Regions from separate parts of the Homo sapiens genome. Here region 1 is linked to region 2. Evidence: promoter capture Hi-C in 16 types of primary human blood cells and fetal thymus (Javierre and others, 2016). All regions are on one chromosome and are shown on one strand. The core of a region is centred on a gene start or on the middle of the fragment in contact, and the rest is flanking DNA. Distances in the headings are between cores, read along the strand shown.

What was found. Contacts are between HindIII fragments. The CHiCAGO score rates a contact against its expected background, and 5 or more counts as called.
Region 1: a contact is called between a fragment that was not itself captured here and the fragment with the promoter of ARHGAP10 in region 2, in 1 of 17 cell types (M0 macrophages). The highest score is 7.1, in M0 macrophages.

The regions. Positions count from the first base shown.
Region 1 is chr4:146,283,304-146,289,815 of GRCh38, reverse strand. All of the region lies in intron 9 of SLC10A7 (solute carrier family 10 member 7), which reads left to right. Among named protein-coding and RNA genes, the nearest start is that of REELD1, 72 kb to the right of the region's middle. The HindIII fragment of the contact is 6,389 bases long and covers 913-6,512 here.
Region 2 is chr4:147,728,304-147,734,775 of GRCh38, reverse strand. It overlaps ARHGAP10 (Rho GTPase activating protein 10), which reads right to left and starts at 2,688. Exons shown (of 23, transcript NM_024605.4): 1 at 2,321-2,688. The coding sequence starts at 2,474. RefSeq lists enhancers at 644-773, 1,902-1,971, 1,292-2,184, 2,185-3,077 and silencers at 2,082-2,161, 2,472-2,991. The HindIII fragment of the contact is 2,455 bases long and covers 1,835-4,289 here.

The DNA.
Region 1 (6,512 bases), core at 2,858-5,357, 1.4 Mb after region 2:
TGAACCCGGGAGACGGAGGTTGCAGTGAGCTGAGATCACGCCACTGCACTCCAGCCTGGGTGACAGAGCAAGACTCCATCTCAAAAAAAAAAAAAAAAAAAAAAAAAAACTAATAATCAGAGATGGGGCATTAGCTTTGCTACTTTGTAATACATTACTTTTTACTTTTCTCTGTCCTAGTTGCTAGGAAATGAGTTGATTCATCAAGCCAAGAGTCAGCTATCCAATGACCTAACCATTCTGCAACTTTGGGAAACTGCAAATTTAAAAAAAAATAAGCAACACACACATACATTGAAAAAGCTTAGAAAAGGAAAGCAGTAATTGGAAATCTTTTAAAAATATATAAAAAGTTAAAAAGTTTGGTAGGCTGATAACTAGAGTAACAGAAACCTATATTGTCATTAGAGTGGCAAAAGAAACTGTTAATGAAGGAAAAGGAAGAAAACAAATATTTGTATATGTGTTTTAATTCTGATCAGTACATTTCCAGTGAGATATCTCAATCTGCCTTTCACCATAGCCCTGGGAGAAGCAGGATGGGAGAATGGGAAAGGGAAGCAGGCAAGGAAGATGGCGATGATCATTAATGGTAAGTTTTCTTACCATTTCAGAGGAGGCAACTAAGCCTTGGCACCCTGGGTAGCTTGTTCAGTGCCACCCAGCTAATGACGGAAGAGGTCTTCTCTGAAAACGAGCAGAGACAAAACACAGGTACAGAGGTTAACAAAGAAGAGGCCTCACTTGGAAGTTTCCTCCTCTGAAAATAGTGGGCTTAGACAGAAGTATCTCAAAGGACCTTTTCTGTTCTACATTCTGTGATTCTACTAGTAAAACCTGACATGTTTTCCTCTGTGGGTACTGCAAAGGAAGGCAAAATAAACATTATGTGGAAAACACTGATTGAAAGCTTTGTAAGAAAGAATAAAAAGACCAGTTGGGAAGAAAAGGAAATAAATATCTCAAGAGAAGGCAAAGTGATCAAAAGAATCATTAAAAACAGGATAAAAAGAAAATCAATATTAAAAAGAGATAAGGTAGAGTTAGAAAATAAATAGTAATGTGATTCCTTTCAAGAATGTGAGCAGACCCAATAGAGATGTTAATCAGTGAGAATAATTTTAGTCATTACTACTCAAATATGATGTACAGGACACTTGATTTTTCTGGGTCTTGTCATGACCTTGTACCATGAAGTCCCCCTTGACAGAGTATGGCTAAGGGTGGATTATTTACCAAGATAGCTGCCCTCACCCATTACATTTTGTAGTGTTTTTGGTTTTAATATTGTCTTTCTCAAAAGGGCAAACTTATGACCAAGGTTTGGGGCAACCAACTTACTAGTTGTGTGACTTTAGGGGAGTTGCTTAACCTACTTGTGTTTCCAGTTCCGTTTTTGGAAAAAGCAGAGCAATAACACTATCTGTTTGTATGGCTTTTCTGAGAAGGAAGTAATACTGGCTGCAACGTGCTTAGAAAAATGCTCAATAATGCTTATGCTGTGGTAATTTACCACCCTCCTGAAGAGAGGGTTAAGTGAGCATCTGCTCTATCAGCTTTCCCCGATACAGCGCTCCAGTCCTACATAGCTAGAGTACAAGTCAACCCTATTGAGGAGGAATATTGTTTTTAACCTTAAATGTTCCCTTTTTATGCCTTAAGGTTCTAATCCTCCTTCCCACTCATGGACTTTTTGTCGATAAGACTGTAGAGCAGTGTTACTGAGAGCAATGAGCCAGAAATCTCCCAGTGTGGCCCTAGCTTTAGCCTCCTTACCTGAAACAGAGGACAAGTAAGCGTATCTTGCAAATATCCTCTTTAGCCACATTGTGAATGCTGCTCTAGTGAGCAGCAGCCAGCGCCAGATTAATTCAGAGCCTCCTTGACCAGAGAGACTGTGACACACTGGAAATGTGCTGTAACCTTGAAAAGAACAAGATATCAAGCCGAACACAGTTTACTAAAGGAAAAGTGTAGTGCAAGACTCTAGGAAGAAAACCAAATGCATAAACCCAGATGCAGCCATGGCTGATATAAACAAGGGCCACAAAAGACAAAGTTTTTGAAGTGCTCCTAACACCACAAACGTTGCTGGACAACATCCCCTACCTAGGACAGCTGATCACATTACATGTTCTACAATCACTGGAGGGCACTCACTCCTGCATGGAAGTTTTTTTATTCATTGTTAATTGACTGTAATTCATATTCTCCAATCTGCCAATTTCAAACTTTTCTAATGTATTTGATTCCCAGGCCTTGGAATTAACTCAAAGTTGGCTCACACTTTACAAAGAAAGTAAAATCTCTGACATAACTTGCCTCTGCTTGCCCGTTCTCTACCTGAAAAATCTCCATATTTTTCACTCCCCTTGTTCACTTTTGCTTCCAGCTCAGATATGTTAGGAAATGCCCTGCTCCAGATAACTTCTTTATTCTTGGCTTCTCAGGCCTCTTTGGGACCTATGTTCATCAGGTATTTCTCTCTGCCGTGTCTTCACTTTCTCTTTATAATCATAGTCAAATATCCTGTGACCTTTTTCTTCCCTTTGCCAGATTTCTTGAAAACACAGTCCTTACCACTCCAAAGACGGTCCTTCTCACCAGTCCAAACTCAGTCGTTCTCACCACTCCAGACACAGTCCTTCTCACCACTCCAGACACGGTCCTTCTCACCACTCCAGACACGGTCCTTCTCACCACTCCAGACTCGGTCCTTCTCACCACTCGAAACACAGTCCTTCTCACCACTCCAAACTCAGTCCCTCTCACCACTCTAAACTCAGTCCTTCTCACCACTCCAAACACAGTCCTTCTCACCACTCCAAACACAGTCCTTCTCACCACTCCAAACTCAGTCCTTCTCACCACTCCAAGTTCAGTCTTTCTCAACTCTCCAAGTTCAGTCCTTCTCACCACTCCAAACGCAGTCCTTCTCACCATTCCAAACACAGTCCTTCTCACCACTCCAAACACAGTCCTTCTCATCACTCCAAACAGTCCTTCTCACCACTGCAAACACAAGCCCTCACCACTCCAAACACAGTCCTTCTCACCACTCCAAACACAGTCCTTCTCACCACTCCAAACTCAGTCCTTCTCACCACTCCAGACACAGTCCTCCTCACCACTCCAGACACGGTCCTTCTCACCACTCCAGACACGGTCCTTCTCACCACTCCAGACACGGTCCTTCTCACCACTCCAGACACGGTCCTTCTCACCACTCCAGACTCGGTCCTTCTCACCACTCGAAACACAGTCCTTCTCACCACTCCAAACACAGTCCTTCTCACCACTCCAAACACAGTCCTTCTCACCACTCCAAACTCAGTCCTTCTCACCACTCCAAACTCAGTCCTTCTCACCACTCCAGAGTCCTTCTCACCACTCCAAACACAGTCCTTCTCACCACTCCAAACACAGTCCTTCTCACCACTCCAAACTCAGTCCTTCTCACCACTCCAAACACAGTCCTTCTCACCACTCCAAACACAGTCCTTCTCACCACTCCAAACTCAGTCCTTCTCACCACTCCAAACACGGTCCTTCTCACCACTCCAAACATGATCCTTCTCACCACTCCAAACACGGTCCTTCTCACCACTCCAAACACGGTCCTTCTCACCACTCCAAACTCCGTCCTTCTCACCACTCCAAACTCAGTCCTTCTCACCAATCCAAACACAGTCCTTCTCACCACTCCAAACTCAGTCCTTCTCACCACTCCAGAGTCCTTCTCACCACTCCAAACACAGTCCTTTTCACCACTCCAAACACAGTCCTTCTCACCACTCCAAACACAGTCCTTTTCACCACTCCAAACACAGTCCTTCTCACCACTCCAAACTCAGTCCTTCTCACCACTCAAAACACAGTCCTTCTCACCACTCCAAACTCAGTCCTTCTCACCACTCCAAATTCAGTCTTTCTCACCTCTCCAAGTTCAGTCCTTCTCACCACTCCAAATTCAGTCCTTTTCACCACTCCAAACACAGTCTTTCTCACCACTCCAAACACAGTCCTTTTTACCACTACAAACTCAGTCCTTCTCACCACTACAAATCTAGCATACATCAGCATCAACTCCTTGGCCTCCTTCCCAAGGCTCACTGAGCCTCCTCTTTAATTCTGTTTCCTTAATGCTCCTCTTGGTTCCATATACTCAAAATTTCTAATTTCTCTTTGGTTCTTCCTTCTCTCTCAAAGCAATAATAATAATATCAATATCCCCTAGCTTGTGTTCAACATTTACATTGTGCCACATTCTTAACAAGCACTGGCATTTATCCCCACAATTGATCCTAAGAGTCAGAAGGTCTTATACTCATTCTACATATGAGAAAAAGGATGGCCTGGAATTAAAATCAGGTGTGTTTGCTCCAAAAGCCTGCACTCTTGAGCTGTTGGGAGGTACTGTTGCACAGAAGTTAACAGAAATTCTTTTCATCCTATCTCCATGTCTCTTTCCACCATCTCCTGTTTTCACTCTGATTCTTTAGACCCTTAGAGCTCCCTGCTTCCTGCCCAGCCTCACCATCTTTAGTCTTACACCATGCTGTGTGATCACTTCTCCTTAAGAATGGATCTACTTATGTCATTCTACTGTCCCAACTCCTTCAGCAGTTCCCCTTATCCCATCATATCAACTCCATACTCCTGATCATAAGCCAGTGTCCCTGCACACAAGTCAGCCTGAAGAATCTGTTCTTTGCCAACTGCCCCCTACACTCCCATACTGCAGTCTCACTGTCCCCTATCTAAAACACACATCTGCACATATCTAAATCTATTCTTTAAGGCTCAGCTCAATTGTTATTTTTTCCCAGAAGGTTATTTGTGCTCTATCATCATCTCCTACTTTCCCTGCCAAGCTAGAGGTGATCCTTCTCTTTCAGCTGAAAGCACTCTATTTCTCTCTCCTCTCCTCTTTCTCATGTATGTCTGTAGTGCTTTCATCTCTCAGCCCATGCATTTACGGAACCTTATGGAACTCCTTCCCCATTAGGCCTACTGTGAGGAATAAAGGGATGAAGAAATATGAAAGCCATGTAATGCAATGTTTAAAAAACAAGAATGCTATTACAATATCAATATGAGAATAAAATGTAGAAACAATTAAGCCAGTCTTATTATACTCAATAAGAGTATATGATATGCATCCATGGGGAATCCTCAACTGAAGTGAGACACCAAAAATTCAGTTTGAAAGTTACCAAGAAACAGCTTAGAAGTACAACTGGTTAGGAAGCAGAAACATGCATGCCTTTTCAGAAGAGAGACCAAAGGCCATTTTAAATATTCTCTTGACACAGGCACAGGGGATGAGGAAGCAGGGTGGGGTGATGGGGGAACCCGGCGGGGAGTTGAGGGGACTCTTCTCTCCTCCTGTGGGTATACAACAAGAAAAACAGGATGTGGGATCTATTTAGGGAAGAGTTTTCTCCCAGCAAAAGTCGTGCATGGGGATGAGATTACTAAGGGAAATGATTGGGTCTCTTTCATTAGGGAGCCTTAAAAATCAGGTACATTGTTATATCTGCAACTGTATAGATGGAGTCAGTTTCTAGAACATTTTTCCATTTGCTAACTCTTCTGTCAGAGTTCAGAGCAGGGAATGAATAGACTCTATATAGTCAAATCCTGATATCCTGACTCCACAGGAAAGAATAGTTTCTAAAATATAAGGGCACAATCATAACAATGACATTTTTAACTTTTTTGGCTTTCTAAACCCTTATTATCTAAAACAGGAAATCTGATTATGACATCCAATTCCCAGTACTGACTCCCCACAACATTTAATTAGTTTTGACTCAGTGAGGTTTTTTTTAATGTTTAACATAGTATATAACAATAGTAGAATATAGTAATTAAGAACACAGGCCTGGGAACTAGACTCTGTTTGAATCCTGGCTCTGTCACTTACTACCATGGGCCCTGAGTACATTATACACTTCTGTGTGCCTCAGTTTTCTCATCTGTAAATAGGAACATTACATCACTTGCCTTTTGGGGTTGTTGCTTTTACATGTAAAGACATTAGAGAAATGCCTATACATGATACTGCTCAAAAAATGATAATTTGTTTTTACTAAAATATATGATGTTAAATCTTTTTTCATACCCTGTATTCTTAAGTGTGTGTTTGCTACCAAAAGGATGTGTTGCTCCTTGAAAAGAGCATTTTTAGAGATATATTTATCCTTTCAAGCCACTGGGTAAATTTCAAGTGGTAACCTAGAGACTTAGAGTTCCTTGTTGCATTATTTTTATAATCAGTCCTGCTCCAGGGGCTGATTATATACGTGATCTTAGGCGACCTCCACCACACATTTTTACAACTGTTCTCCTTTTCATGGATAAATGACTCAGAAGTAGTTCTCTAAAAAGAAATCCAGACACTTCTGTACATTTGGGTGTAGAATTACTACTGTCACCAGGATTGATCAAAGGGATGTTAACATAAAGGTAGGTACTACATTTGATTTTGAATGTGTTAAATTGGCTTT
Region 2 (6,472 bases), core at 1,439-3,938:
CTAGACTGCAGTTTCAAATAACCTCATCAAGCCATTTTCAAATGCTGCAGAACCTTATTAGTTCCCCTAAGAGGTAGACAGGGGAAGTTGGACGCAAAAGAATAAGACCTGCTCAATTTTCCTATAGCCACGCCCTAACCAGTGAAGAAGAATTAAATTCAGGTCCCCTGACTTTAGTCCAAGGCTCTTAGTCTTTGATAGGAACTAGAAGTAAACTTTATGGAGCAAGCGGGAAAAGGCATGTGAGCTACAGCTGTGTTCCTGTCACCTTCTGGGAAAGAATTTAAACATAAATTCTTAATGAACATAACGAGAAAAAAAGACACTTCCCAATTACTCTCAAAGCATGATTACAAGTTATGTTTCTTATGCTAAAGGACGAGAATCAAAATGAGTAAGATACTAATTCACAAATTCAAGAAAGTCTACAGTCTGGAGGAAAGCTGACATCTGGCCCCCCAGATGCACTGGCTGCTGCTGGAACCTAACGCATGTGTCCTGATGGCAGGAAAGCTAATATGCTGTCACAGAAATAGCTTTCTACCAGTGGCCAAACTGGCTTTGCCCTCTGCCTCTCTCCACACCTCTCTAGCTCCAGAGGGAACTACTACAACCAATGAGAGAGAAGGTACATTCTCCCGGCCACTGACTCTGGTTAACATCAAGTTACAGAAAGAGTCCTCAGTCCTCATTCTCTCGTGTTCACTCTGCACCCCCGCTCCCAACTCCTCCTTTCTATGCTCACTCCTCCATATGTATAGGCGCCCCCCTACTTCCCACCCAACACACATACCAGATGCCAAGGGCCTGGAGAGCCCTCAACCAAATAAGCCCACTTGTCACATGTCCCAGAGTCCCATTTCTGATTCAAGCAGCAGAGACTTAAAAACAAAACAAAAAAACCCTAAGTGAGTCCCAGTCCTGATTTTGCAACACCAAAGAGGTCAGAGAACCAAAAGGAACCTTGGAGATCATCCAGAGAAGTTGAGTGACTTGCCTCCAAAATTACAGGGATGGCTCACTAAATTCTTCCCACAGAAATGTACTTCAACTTATTCATTAAATGCATATTTACTGTACCAGGCACCATGCTGGGTGCCCGAGACAGTATAATCAATATGTTTTAATCGCCCTTACTGAAAAATGGGGCGGGGCGCGGTCGGGAGAACAGTGAGATGGGGGATTTTCCCCAGAGGTGGTATCTACAAACAAATGTACAAGGGACGAATACCTAAGGCTGAGAATTACTGAACTGAGAATCTAGGTGAGTGATGAAGGCCCTAAGAACCCAGCCCCTCAAGGCTGGATACTGCCCAAGTCCCTGTCTGCTGTATGGACAGGTCTTTTAAAGGGGGAAAGGGGACATTCACCGCCATCCTCCGAAGGGGTTATGGATCCAAGGGATGGTCAGGCTGCCCAGCTCCTCACTGGGGCTAATTCCGCCCCATTTTCCAGTAGCATCACTAACTCAGTATTTCTGCATGAATTTTGGCCCCTTCTCTCCTAGAAAGACTCTCCTCAACTACACTAAAATACAGTTATCTCTCCTGTATCTCGTGTCTTCTTCCGAGTTTAAGAGACAGAAGTTCAGGGGAGGAAGGCACCAAGCCTAACCGGGGTGGAATTCCCTATTTGCAAGCAGTGCCCGCCTAGGCTAGAGGGCAGGCTGTCCGCTCACCCTTCCAAACCCCAATCTTTGAACCCTCCTCAGCACGGCAGGGGAGGAATGTGCGGAAGCAGCATAAAGCCAGGTGGACTTTCTGGTTTGGCACGTGAAGGACCTGGAACAGGACTGTCGGGGAAGATCAGACAATGAGAGGGAAAAGGTGAAGCTTAAGGGGACTCTGGAAAACTCAACACTCCCGCAGGGTTTCAAAGAATCCCCAAGAAATTTCTTTTGAGAAGTCACAAAACAAAACTAGGCAAACAGATGCCTCGGTTTTGTAAGAGATTGTGAGTAGCTTTAGGCAGCAATGAAACCTGACTCCGGGCCAGGAGTGCCTAGGGTCGGTCCAGCGGAGCGCGCATTCAGCGAGGGGTGTTCGGCCGGGGCCAGGCGGGGCCCAGGCGGGGCCCGCTGGCAGCTGGTTCCCGCCGCCGCAGAGCCGCAGGGGCGGGAATGGGGACTCGCCGCGCTGCCTCGAGGAGGAATGATTCCAGGGACCCCCCGGGGTTCCGAGAGAGCTGGGCTGGTCCGGAATGAATTCCCCGTTCCTCTGGCTGCTGGCCCCGGACACAAGACCCTCCGTCTCCTGCCGAGAGAGGCTCCCCCAGCCGCCTCGCCACGCCGCAGCCCGTCCGCGCCCGCGTCCCCGCTTACTTTTCGTCGCAGCGATGAGGTTCTTCCCGTCCTTAATGAGCTCTTTGATGAACTTGTTGGTCCTCTCGAGTTCCGCTTCGTGAGCGCGGATCCTCTCCCGGAACCACGGGCTGTCGAGGTAGCAGTCGCTGAACTCCAGGGGCTGCAGCCCCATGACGGCAGCGGTCGCTGCGCGGTGCGCACGGCCGCGCGCTCCTGCCCGAGCCGAGCTCCGAGGCCGCTGCCAGGTGCGGCGCCGCGCGTTCAGGGAGCACAGAGGAGCTAGCAGGCCCGGGCGCGCGGCGAGCGCGGCACGGACATGTCCCGTAGAGCCGAGTCCTGCGGCGCGGAGGAGCTGCCACCGAGACCAGCGCTAGCTGCGGCGCCCCAATCCCGGCAGCCCCCGCCGAGCTCTGAGCGCCCGCGGCCCCGCCCCGCCCGGCCCCCGCGCGGCAGACACTCCCCGAGGCGCCACCCGGCCGGGCCCGCGCTCCCGCTCGTCCCCTTCTCTTTCCTCCGCCTTCCTTCTTCCTCCCTTCCCTTCCCTGGACGCCTCTTCCTTCTCTTCCCCACGCGCAGCTGCCCCTCCTCTTCCTTCCGAGGCGTCCTGGGGCTAGAATTTCGCCCCGCGGCTCCCCTCCACCCTGGGCGCTCTCCCCTCCCCTTTGCTTGGGCTCCCGGGGCCGGGGTGACTCACAGTCGGCTCCCCGCTGCACGGAACCCGACCGGGACCGAGAAGGAGCGTCTTAATTGCAGTCGTTAGTCCCCGCAGGCGGGCGACATAACTCTGAAGTGGCTGCCTTGCAGGAGATGATTAACTCATTTATCTCATTTATCCTGGGACGCCCCCAACCCCGAGCTGGGAACGAACTCGCACAGGGGGCTCTTTTCCTTATCCCGGTTCCTTTCCCAGTTTAAAGTGAGATGCGTGGTAAATCTCCGCTTGAGATCGAAGCCTTACAATGGCAAGAGCGTTTTCTTGGTGGCCCAGCAGCTCCTATTACACTTCTCTGCGTATCCGCACTAAATAACTTAGTTGAAGAGAGAGGGCTGGCTAAACCACAGAAAAGTTGTTTCTGTTGTGTTCAGCACATTAAATTTGCTGGGGTAGGTGAAGACGATCTTTATTATTCTAAAAATAACTACCGGAAAACATGCCAGGTAACGTGTGGTTTTCACCGCGTGGGGGTGACGATCAATGAGAATTTATGTCAGTGCCCTCAAAAAGCCTATTTTGTGTGTTATGAAACAACTCCAGTGTGTCCCAAAAAAAGTTAGGCATTTTAAAGTATTAAAATGTATACCTTAGGCCGGACGTGGTGGCTCACGCCTGTAATCCCAACACTTTGGGAGACGGAGGCGGGTAGATCACCTGAGGTCAGGAGTTGGAGACCAGCTGGCTAACATGGTGAAACCCCGTCTCTACTTAAAATACAAAAAGTACCCGGGTGCGGTGGCACGTGCCTGTAGTCCCAGCTGAGGCAGGAGAATCGCTTGAACCCAGGAGGCGGAGGTTGCAGTGAGTCGTGATGGTGCCACTGCACTCCAGCCTGGGCGACAGAGCGAGACAATGTCTCAAAAAAAAAAAAAAGTATTTCTTAAAAAAAAACACTAATAGTTCATTAGAGTAACGTTTCATAATCGCAATTTATTAAGCAATTATTATGTGCCGGGCACCCACTAGGAACTCCATACATCTACAAACTCGCGATATAGACTTACATGATATGATGGTAATATTAACGAGAAACTTCAAAGTAATTCCTCAAGACGTTCAGACTCTCAGCTGGGTAATTAAGAATCTGTTTGGACAGCATGTTGTAGGAGGGTAACCCTCCCGAACAAGTTAAATAAGCCTCCTACTCAATAAGCCCTTTTGTTACAAAACAGCACCAGGAGTGCCTAACCCACAGATAAACATTATTACTCTAATGTCCATCCTCCAGAGAGTTCAAAGTGTTTTACAAATAACTTTTAGGCGGTGAAAGCTTCAGTTCCTACTAAAACCAGCAGGAGACTGGAGTCTACAGAAAAGAGAATAAAAGAGGCAAATAAAGGGGAAGAAAGACAAGAAGAGAGGGGGTGTAAACAAAAATGAGGGCCTAGCGAAACAGCCAAGCACTGACCACACTCAATCCTCAGAGCAGAAACCCAAACCTTTTCTCATAGAGGGGCTGCTGAGACTTCTTCAATATTGAACATGGAGGTTACCGTGTGACCCAGCAAGTCCACGCTTAGATATATACCCAAAAGAAATGAAAATATATGTCCACGCAAATATTTACACACAAATATTCATAGCAGCATTATTCGTAATAGCCAAAAAGTAGAATCAACCAAAATGTCCTTTGTCAGCTGTGTAATGGATGCACAAAATGTTTGTCCATAAAATGAAATATTAATCTACAATAAAAAGGAATGAAGTACTGACACGTGCTACGGCACAATAACGGTGAAAACGTTATACTAAGTAAAAGAACCTAGCTGCAAAAGGCCAATACTATCTACTTATATTAAATGTCCAAAACAGGTAAATCTATAGAGGCAGAAAGATTAGTGGTTGCTAGAGACTGGGGGATAGAGTGGAGGGTATATGTAGTCAGGAGTTTATTTTCAGGGTGATGAAAATTATTAATATTTTTATTTTTCATAGAGATAGGGTCTCACTATGTTGCCCAGGCTTTTCTCAAACTCCTTAGTTCAAATGATGCTCCCACCTTGGTCTCCCAAATTGCTGGAGTTATGGGAGTGAGCCGCCGAGCCTGGCCGAAAACAATTTAAATTTACATTTTGGTAATGGTTGCACAATTCTGAATATACTCAAAATCACTTAATTGTATGTGATAAATGGGTGGATTTCTTTTGGTCTGTGAAATATATCTCAATAAAAAATTTTTTTTAAGATGAACTACTCTAGAACTGCTTCTCCTTTACCACATTAGACTTCAAGCCGTAAAAACTCTGGTTTATTCAGTGTGCCCAGTTCTTTAGATATTTGGAGAAAAAAAAAAGTTGTTTAAAACAATGTCAAAACATCATAAAAAATATTACTTATCACTTCACACACATGTACACCCAGTGTTAAAGAGCTAGTGAATATGAATCTTAATTCATTACCAAATAGGTCCACAATAATTACCATGAGTGGAGGGGCCTGATTAATTTTGTTTTATTCAGCTATGCCTATGCAGTGTCTGGTATACAAGTGATCAGTAAATGTGGAATGAATAAGTATAACTAACTGAAGAGAAATCTCTGTACAGTGGACAGTGGAAAGATAGATATTTAGTAGTTCCAGCTCCAGCTTTACTACTTAACAGTTGTGCAACCTTAGCAAAGGTAATTTTCTGTAAACCTCAGACTTACCATCAGTGAAATGGAGATGATGACATTGCAGCTGCAGGTTGCTTGAGAAGATTTAATGAAATTGTGTTTGTAAAGTGCCTGCTGAAAATTATGATAATAATGAGACTCAAGGAAGAAGGAAGTGTGGAGGATGGGCTGAAGAGAGGGATGAGGGAGAGGAGGAGACAGATTACATTCCATCAATGTGGGAAAGATTTTCGGGGCAGGAGAGCCCTTAAATCATGGTTTTAAACCATGTAAGACAGAACTCAAGAAAAGTGGCCACAAAAGCAGATGCTACTGAGTTTCCAGGTTTCATCTTAATTAATCAATTATTCCCACAAATATTTACTGATCATTTATATGTATTAGGCACCGTATTAGGTGCTCATGATGCAGCAGCACACAAAACAGTCCTCACCGTGCTTTTGGTCTCTGGGGGAGACTGGCCTCATCCCAAAAAAAAAGAAAAAGAAAAATCACACACATATATATCCAATTGAAAATTGAAGCACCATGCAGTTAAAGTGAAGGGTGTGTGAGAGATTATAATTGGAACACCTGATGGAGATTGGGGCTGGGTCAAGGAAGGCCTCATTGAGGAAGTGATATGAAAATGATAATTTAATCAATGACCAGGAATATCAGTAGGAGTTAACTGTTAAATAGGGGTAGGAACAGAGTAGTACAGACATGGGACCAGCTTGTGCAGGCCCCTGAGATGGCACACTCAAGAGATGAACAGGTCGGTGGCTGAAGCCCAGTGAGAGAGACTGGCTCACAACTATGCCAGGTGGTGGAGGATAGGCAGGGTCAGATGGTGCAGAG